Linked DNA regions of Homo sapiens: region 2 is linked to region 1. Evidence: promoter capture Hi-C in human tissues and cell types (Jung and others, 2019). All regions are on one chromosome and are shown on one strand. The core of a region is centred on a gene start or on the middle of the fragment in contact, and the rest is flanking DNA. Distances in the headings are between cores, read along the strand shown. Region 1 holds the start of GABRA4 (gamma-aminobutyric acid type A receptor subunit alpha4). Region 2 overlaps GABRA4 (gamma-aminobutyric acid type A receptor subunit alpha4).

What was found. Contacts are between HindIII fragments. The study calls those that stand out against the background at their distance.
Region 2: a fragment that was not itself captured here is called in contact with the fragment with the promoter of GABRA4 in region 1 in 1 of the 25 tissues and cell types used here (heart right ventricle).

Annotation. Positions count from the first base shown.
Region 1 is chr4:46,991,300-46,995,081 of GRCh38, forward strand. GABRA4 (gamma-aminobutyric acid type A receptor subunit alpha4) reads right to left here and starts at 2,282. Exons shown (of 9, transcript NM_000809.4): 1 at 2,040-2,282; 2 at 1,529-1,647. The coding sequence starts at 2,125. It also overlaps a transcript of GABRB1 not described here. RefSeq lists a silencer at 2,213-2,507 and an enhancer at 2,669-2,738. The HindIII fragment of the contact is 6,154 bases long and covers 1,066-3,782 here.
Region 2 is chr4:46,950,205-46,953,931 of GRCh38, forward strand. All of the region lies in intron 8 of GABRA4 (gamma-aminobutyric acid type A receptor subunit alpha4), which reads right to left. Among named protein-coding and RNA genes, the nearest start is that of GABRA4, 42 kb to the right of the region's middle. The HindIII fragment of the contact is 4,295 bases long and covers 1-3,727 here.

The sequences.
Region 1 (3,782 bases), core at 1,032-3,531:
CCTATCATTGATGTACTATGTGCCCTTATATACATCACTTTCCCTTTCTAAACCTCAGTGTCCCCATCTGTTAAATGAGACCAGATGCCAAAGAAACACCCAACTCTACTTTATCTGCCCATAAAGGTTTTAAACTTGACATTTCAAGTGAAGGCTAGAAAGAGTTTCTAGCCCCAGGCCATACTCCTACTTCACATCACAGGCAGTCCTGCTCCCCATTCTTACTTTCTCCATTCTCCCAACATGTCATCTCCTACACACCCTCAATAGGAGGTATAAAGTTGCTCCATGCTTCTAATATTAGATGATACTCATCACACAGCATCTGATACCATCCCCATCTGCACGGCTTTGTCTTTTAAATACACAGCCTGCTCTGGGTTTACATCCTTCTCCTCCTACTTACTAACTTGGAACTTGGACTCAATTTCCTTATCTGTAAAGTGGGGATGGTAATGGCTTTCAAAGCTTTGTTGTGAGGGTTAAACAGAGTGGTGATGCCTACAAAATGCCTGGTATATGTGAACATTTAATTAAATAAATACAATATTACTGGCTGTTATTATTGTTACCACTTGAATGTAAGCTCCTTTAAGGCAGAATCTCTATCCTGTTCAACTCAGTTGCTGAAGGGTAATTAGTGCAGTGTACTGTAAAAAACAGGGACTTTGAGATCAAAGGACCTGGGCCAAACCTATGAATGGGACCCTAGCAAGTCATTTGTCCTCGTTGAACTGGACTGAGAAGCTGTTTGAGGTTAAGAATTGTATCTTAATATTTCTGTGGACCTAGTACCTAGCGCAAAGCTTGCCACATAGATTTCCATTATATATGCAAAGGAAATATGAATATGAAAAACAGCAACAGTGCTGTTAATGGATGTACCTCTATTAAGTCCTTTATACTTATTTTGTTGAAGAAAGCAAGCTGGAACATCTCTAACTTTAAAGTCTTAGGAGGAAAGCAAATGACACATCACCAAAAAAGAAAGGGAAAAAAGAAAAGCATCCTGCTGTAGAAGAGAAAAGGAAAGGACTGGGTTCTCTAGCAGAGCAGGCAGCTTCATGCCCCAGATTTATGTCCCAGGTAGAACATTGGCCAAGGTTTTGGCATAGGCATGGACACGTGGGAGGATGAGGGACTTCGGTTCAGCTGCCTCCAATGCAACCTGCTCTGAGCGAAGTGGCCAGGTTCAGGGAAACTATTCTCAGCGAAGAGCGTCCAGGCAGCTGAGCCCAGAGTTCCCATTTTTGACTCTTCCTCTCCAACCTCCCCCACCCAGCAGTCAGGTCCCGGGAGGTAATTAGTGTGGGGGAGAGGCAAAGCTTCTGAGGGGGCAGGGAGATGGGAAAGTACGGGTGGAGGCGGTCTTCTTGTCATAGGTCTCACCAAGAGAGGAGAGATAGAAAGAGAGAGAGATTTATTTTTGCACGTGAGGCATACCTAATGATATTCCCACAGACAGACAGACAGGAAGACCAAGAGAGGGACAGACAGGACACACTTGCGCGTTTGAAATCGTTCATACCCCCAAATCCAGGACGCAGCCTGTTGTCATAACCATCGAGCAAACTGTCCAGGATGCGGGTGAAATTTTCTGTGCACAATTTCTCCTCCTTTTGGTTCTGTCCTGGGGATTCGTTTAAACTGCAAGCGAAAAAAAAAAAACCGGGGGCGGAGGAGATTATTTTAAGAATCCATCAGAGAACAGGTGCAAACAGGTTTGTTTTCTAGGGAAAGAGTCGCTTGCCCCAAGCTAAAGGAGAGGAGGTTGGGGGTTGGGATGCAGAAGACAGAAATGGTCAGGAAAAGCGCGCCCCGCCGCAAGACCCCCAGTGCCCACACGCCTCTTGGATCCTGCGCCCTTGGTGCTCTCCGCATCTATGCGGTCACAGAAAAGCCTGGCTTCGGCCCCTGCTCTTACAGCTGAGATAAGAAGACCTAGTCCACCCAGGGAGGAGCGAGTGGCCAAAGGGGTCCCGGAGCTAGCCATTTCTCCACTTTCCGTTGCCCACCTCCTCGCACCCCAGAGAACTCACCAAACCGCCAGGCACAGGAAGCGCAGGAGGGCGAAACTGACCCCGGCGGACAGAGCGATCGCGGGTACCTTCTTGGCAGAAACCATCTTTGCAACATGCCATACTTCAAGCCTGTTCACGTTTCCAGGCTCTTCAGATGCCCTGAGCAGGGTGCGAGGAGAGGGCAGAGAGGCTCCCGCGGCGTGCGCACACTCGCGCTCACACTCGCCCGCGCTCAGCCAGCCCGAGCCGCGGTGGGCGTGTGTGTGCACGGGGCCAGGGGAGGCGGAACCTGCCTTCCTCGCCCCCTCCTTTCTCGCTCAGCGCTCAATGTGTATGTAGAGCTATGTATACCGCTCCACACCCTTTCGTGCCCGCGCGCTGAAGGTTCTGGGGTTCGTATCCGCGCGCTTGCGCTGCAAGACTCGGCAAGTTTGTTCCGACTGTAACTCCGGGGATGAGGAACGGGGTCTCTCGCCCCTCCTCCGGCTTCGCAGCCCCCGACCCCAAGTGGGCTCCCCGCCCACAGCAGTGTTCGTCCTCCTACCTCCTGGCCCCCTCCCTTCCGCTGGGATTTGGATCTAACCAATGAAGCTCCTCTGTCATCAGGTTGTGCGAGGACCTGTTTGTACCCAGAGTCAAGGTTGGAGGTGGAGAAAGGGCGGGTGACGGGGACTGCTGGGCGTCGGGTGGTAGCGGTGGTGAGGAGAGGGGATCAAGTCCGGGCTCAAACCACCTTTGAGACCCTCCCATTCAGGTGTTATGGGGGGCGGTAGGGAGAGCAATGAAAGCAGAAAGATTCTTCCTGGTAACAGGGGTTGCAGCTCACCCGGCGGACTCTCGCCAAACTATTGGGAAGTGGACTCGAGCCGCACTCTAGTCCCAGTATTTGCTAAGCTATTGCTTTAAAGACACCCCATTTCTTTACCCGCCTCCACCAGACACGCGCACACCCTCCGCTTTGCTGCTCCATCCTTTTCTGGAGAGGAGGGGAGAGGTGGAGACAAGCGACCTCTGGTCAAAATCACTTTCACTTCTTGCGACACTCTTCTTTTTCAGAATGGAGTTGACTTACTTCCAGAGGTTGACTGCTTTAGGTAGGGGGAAAGGACGGCTGGAGAGAGAGTGGGGGGGGAAAGAGAAAATGTGTGTGTGTGTGTGTGTGTGAGAGAGAGAGAGAGAGAGACAGAGAGAGACAGAGAGAGAGAGAGAGAGAGAGGCAGAAGGTGGGGTATGGAGAGAAAGGATACATAAATTAAAATGGAGGGGGACAAATATTAGTTCCCTTGTGACATGAAAGGGAACACTAAGCTCCATATCTTTACTGTTTTACTGAGCAAAGATAAGCATTCCCAATAGATCTTTGGAAACATTAATTATTGGCTCCAAGGGGGAAAAGCGTCTTTCAAATTAGTAATGATGCATGTGGAAATTTTCATATGATGGATCAATGAGCTAAGTAATTCCCATACCTTGGAACCAAACACCAATTAGGTTCTAGTCGGAACTCTGATGATTTGTTCAAATTGAGATGACTAGTGGACGGGTATGAAGAGGGAACGCATTGTATTAGACAGGGGTTTTGGTTTTTTTGTGTGTTTTAAACGTCTGGATTCAAGTTTTCTTTCTAAGGGAAAGCCCAAAGTGCTCATCGTGGGCAGTAGCTAGAGCTCCGTGCTCTGTATTCTGTACTGCTTTCTTCATGGAATTTGTTAACTTCATCCTAATCCCATCTCTATCATTCTTTTCTCATAGACTGTGGTC
Region 2 (3,727 bases), core at 648-3,147, 41 kb before region 1:
TGCTTCAAGTCAAAATAAAGCAAAGCAAACAAGCTAACAAAACGATCCTACTGAGACCATTAGGATGCCCAGAGAGGATGTGCCCCCATTAGGCCCAGGCACACAAAGTACGGCTCCAAGGTTTTGATACTCTCAGCTCAGCCTAAATCTCTGTCTTCAAAACAAATAACCTAACGAATTTAAAAATGCAAATCACTATCATCATTCATGACAAATTCTTATTAATTATCTCTTTTGCTGTTAAAAAGAAGCGACTAATAAGGCAATTTTATGTCAGAGCTGGGCCTCACCTTTACTTCAAAAGACCATTTTCCACCTCTTTAAAAGCCATTTTTCTCTAGCAAAATGGCATTTTCTAATGGCTCAACCTAATAAAATTTAGCTTTTCTCAAAACAAATCTCAGGCTCATTTCTTCATGGAAGAAGCAGCATGTGAAAGTTAAGTGCCTAACCCAGGCTTCCACTTATCATTGCCCTCCCACGTTTTTTTAAGCTAATGATATTCTCTAAGAAAATAAATAAATAAATAAATAAATAAATAAATTACTATATGCTTGTCCAGCTCTTGCTTACTCTCCAGGGAAGCAAGAAGCTTCAAGCTCCAAGAAAATCTCGTTTTTACTCCTTCAAAGCAAGATATCCTTATCAGAGCTCTTCCAGCCAAGCTAGCCCTCAGAAGAGTATCTGATTATTATTAGAGCAGGCGAGTATTAGATTCCTTCCTTCACTCATAGCCAGAAAACCTATACTGGGGCCCCAGGTATCCCTGACCAGCAGAGTTGAGCATGACTCTTACTTTCTATCTCATACCTATCTGCACTGGGAGACAGAGACAACCGGCATAATAAAACTAAGGCTCAGAGGAAAAGCCAGTGGAATACAGGAATAGCACTTGCTTCATATGGGTGAGTTCCAAAGAAATTAGGTCGTTTGTGGTTAAGAGAAGAGTTACACAGATTTCCTTCAGTTATCCAAAACCTATATGTGACCCTCAAAAAGCTAATTAACAATGTTGAATGGGTTTGTGGGACTTTTTACTGTTATTATGTTATCTAACCAGTTAATATTAATAATATTTTATATATTATTAAATATATACTATGTATTTATAATTAATATTTTACAAAGACTACATTGTATTCATACAGTCTTTCATTCATTGACTCAATCAACAAATATTGGGTGCCAGGCCACTAAATATTGGTCTTCAAGTTCATACTCTTCAAAACACTTTTCAAATAAATCTGCCCAATAAACTAAACCCATATGTCCTCATAGCTTGTTACGCTGGAGATAGTAATATTCCCACTTTGTAATTAAAGAGTTGACTTTCTGCTTTTTGAATACAGAGTCCTTGCCACTCTTTGCCAAATTCTCTTTGGAGATGTCAATCCCAATCTCCAAGTGCCAGGGACCTAGACAAAGAGAAAGTGCAGATGTGCTAAACGGTGGGGCTTCTTCTTCCTCTATAGCTCTTCCGTTTTCCTAATATTAATATGTATAATAAAATACTAGGAAATTTGTTATATATATATATGTGTGTGTGTGTATATGTATGTGTATATATATGTGTGTATATATATGTGTGTACGTGTGTGTGTGTGTGTGTGTACATATATATATAATTTTCAAGCGGTATCTTGATATCCACATTAAACTGACTGTACTTAGAAAAACTTTTCAGGGAGGCAAAAATAGAGTGCCCACATGACTACTGCTTCTGTGAATCCCCTAAGAATGGCCTTCTCTCTCACTAGGAAGCCTAAAACTGTTTGCAATTAGACAACAAAAAGCAATTAAAAGTATTTATTTTTTAAAAGCTTGTTTTAGCCAACCCACCCTCAAAAGAGAGACAGAGAGTCTGAGAGAGAAGAAAAATTTAGTGGCCTACATTGTTTGGGATTGGTGAGACTAGAGAGTATAAAGAAATCTCCATACTGGTCATCGATATGAAGATATCAGAGTTATAAAAATTGAACTCAAATTCAAGAGCTATAGACTGAGGGAGAAGGAATATAGTCTTACAGAACAACTAAGAAGTTAAAAATTCAGGATTATTCATCGTGGCAGCAAAAGACAGTTTGGGAAAGTACATGATGTATTAGTCAAGTAAAGAATCTAGGAAGCTAAAAAAATCCTGTAACATCTGAAATACTAGAAAATATTAAGAAAAGCATGCCATGCCATACAATCTGAGTGAAAAGTGTCCTCTTTCTAAAACTGTTGCAAAATTGATCAAAATACATAAAAATTTTCTTTTTCCAAAGACATTTTTCATACATAATATCCTCTAATTCATTTAAGTGAAATAAAATAAGTCATACCCAAACTGATGTTTCTTGAAACTTCTAAATCATCTGAGGCTGAGCAAAAAGCTGGAGATTTAGCGATGTATATTATGTTGTGGGAAAATTAGCTCCTCAAAATAGCAAAAGGGAAAATTGGCAGCTTAGTCAAATACACCAGAAGGAATGAATAATCTTACTCAGTAGCTTAGGGATGAGAACTTGGTGGAAAATATAACTAAATGTTGAGGAAAGTTGTTTAAAGCAGTTGTTTATTTTTGAAGCTGATTTTTTCCATTCTAAAAAGAAGTGCTGGCCCACTCACATTGCGATATAAATGGAAAAAAAAGATTATAAAATAAATAAAATATTGAAGTACCAGAAAAAAACCTTTTAATAACAAAATTTCACCAATGGAAATGTGTAGTTTTTTCATATATTGCTATCACCAGCAACCATGTCTATATCTCAGTTATATGAGGAATGAAATCAATCAGCAGGCATTTCTTGAGCACCTGGCTATGTGTTAGGAAATATGTGCCAGATGTGCTGGGGAAGTGACGGAGTAAATGGAGAAGTAATAACAATTCCAATAATATGGTAATTGTTTATAAATTAGATAGCAATTCTAGAATGATTCTTAAGCTAGACCATAAACATTACAAACCAACTCATGATATTCATAATAATGAGCTGGCTTATCCTTTCTACTCTCCTTTATCTGCTGACGATCAATAAAATACACCTCACCACCAATCTGAGTTCTGCCAGCATCCCTCACCCCCTAAAGCTCAGCATGCTTCTTTGTAGTGTCCCTTGGTCCAAATACAGTGTCTGTTCCTCTGGATTATTTATATCACTATACTCTGTCTCCTGATGTAGTATTTCAGGGCAAAAACTACCTCCTAAACTTCTTGGAAATTTTTCCCACTTTTAAAACAACAGATGTTGTAAATAAGTATTGTTAATTGAATATGTTGATGCACATAAAATAGATTATTTCAAATCAAAATAATGGTAATATATTCTAAAGTTTTCTAAATGTTTAAAATGTCACAACATTTTGGGAAAACTGTGGATTAGTTAGTCTACAATTTGTTAAAATAACTGTGCAAAATTAATTGGTGATTTTTAGAGTTGACAAAATCCACATGTATTTTATGAAAAGTAGATGATCTAAAAAATGTGATTAATTTTCTCTGACCGCTTTCTACGTAAACCAAACCACTGACTAAGGGTATGGCTTGTATATAAATGGGATAGAGTTTCAAAGTATGGCTTACACTTCTAACAATGTAAACATTAAGACAATCTTCAGAAAAATTGTGGATAGTTGGGGAGTAAGTATGGGGCCAGGGACACAGCAGAGTTCAGCAGTGGTTGTGATGGGTTATAACTGAGGGACAACAGTCTGTAGTGGTTGTGAACCTACACTTTGGATC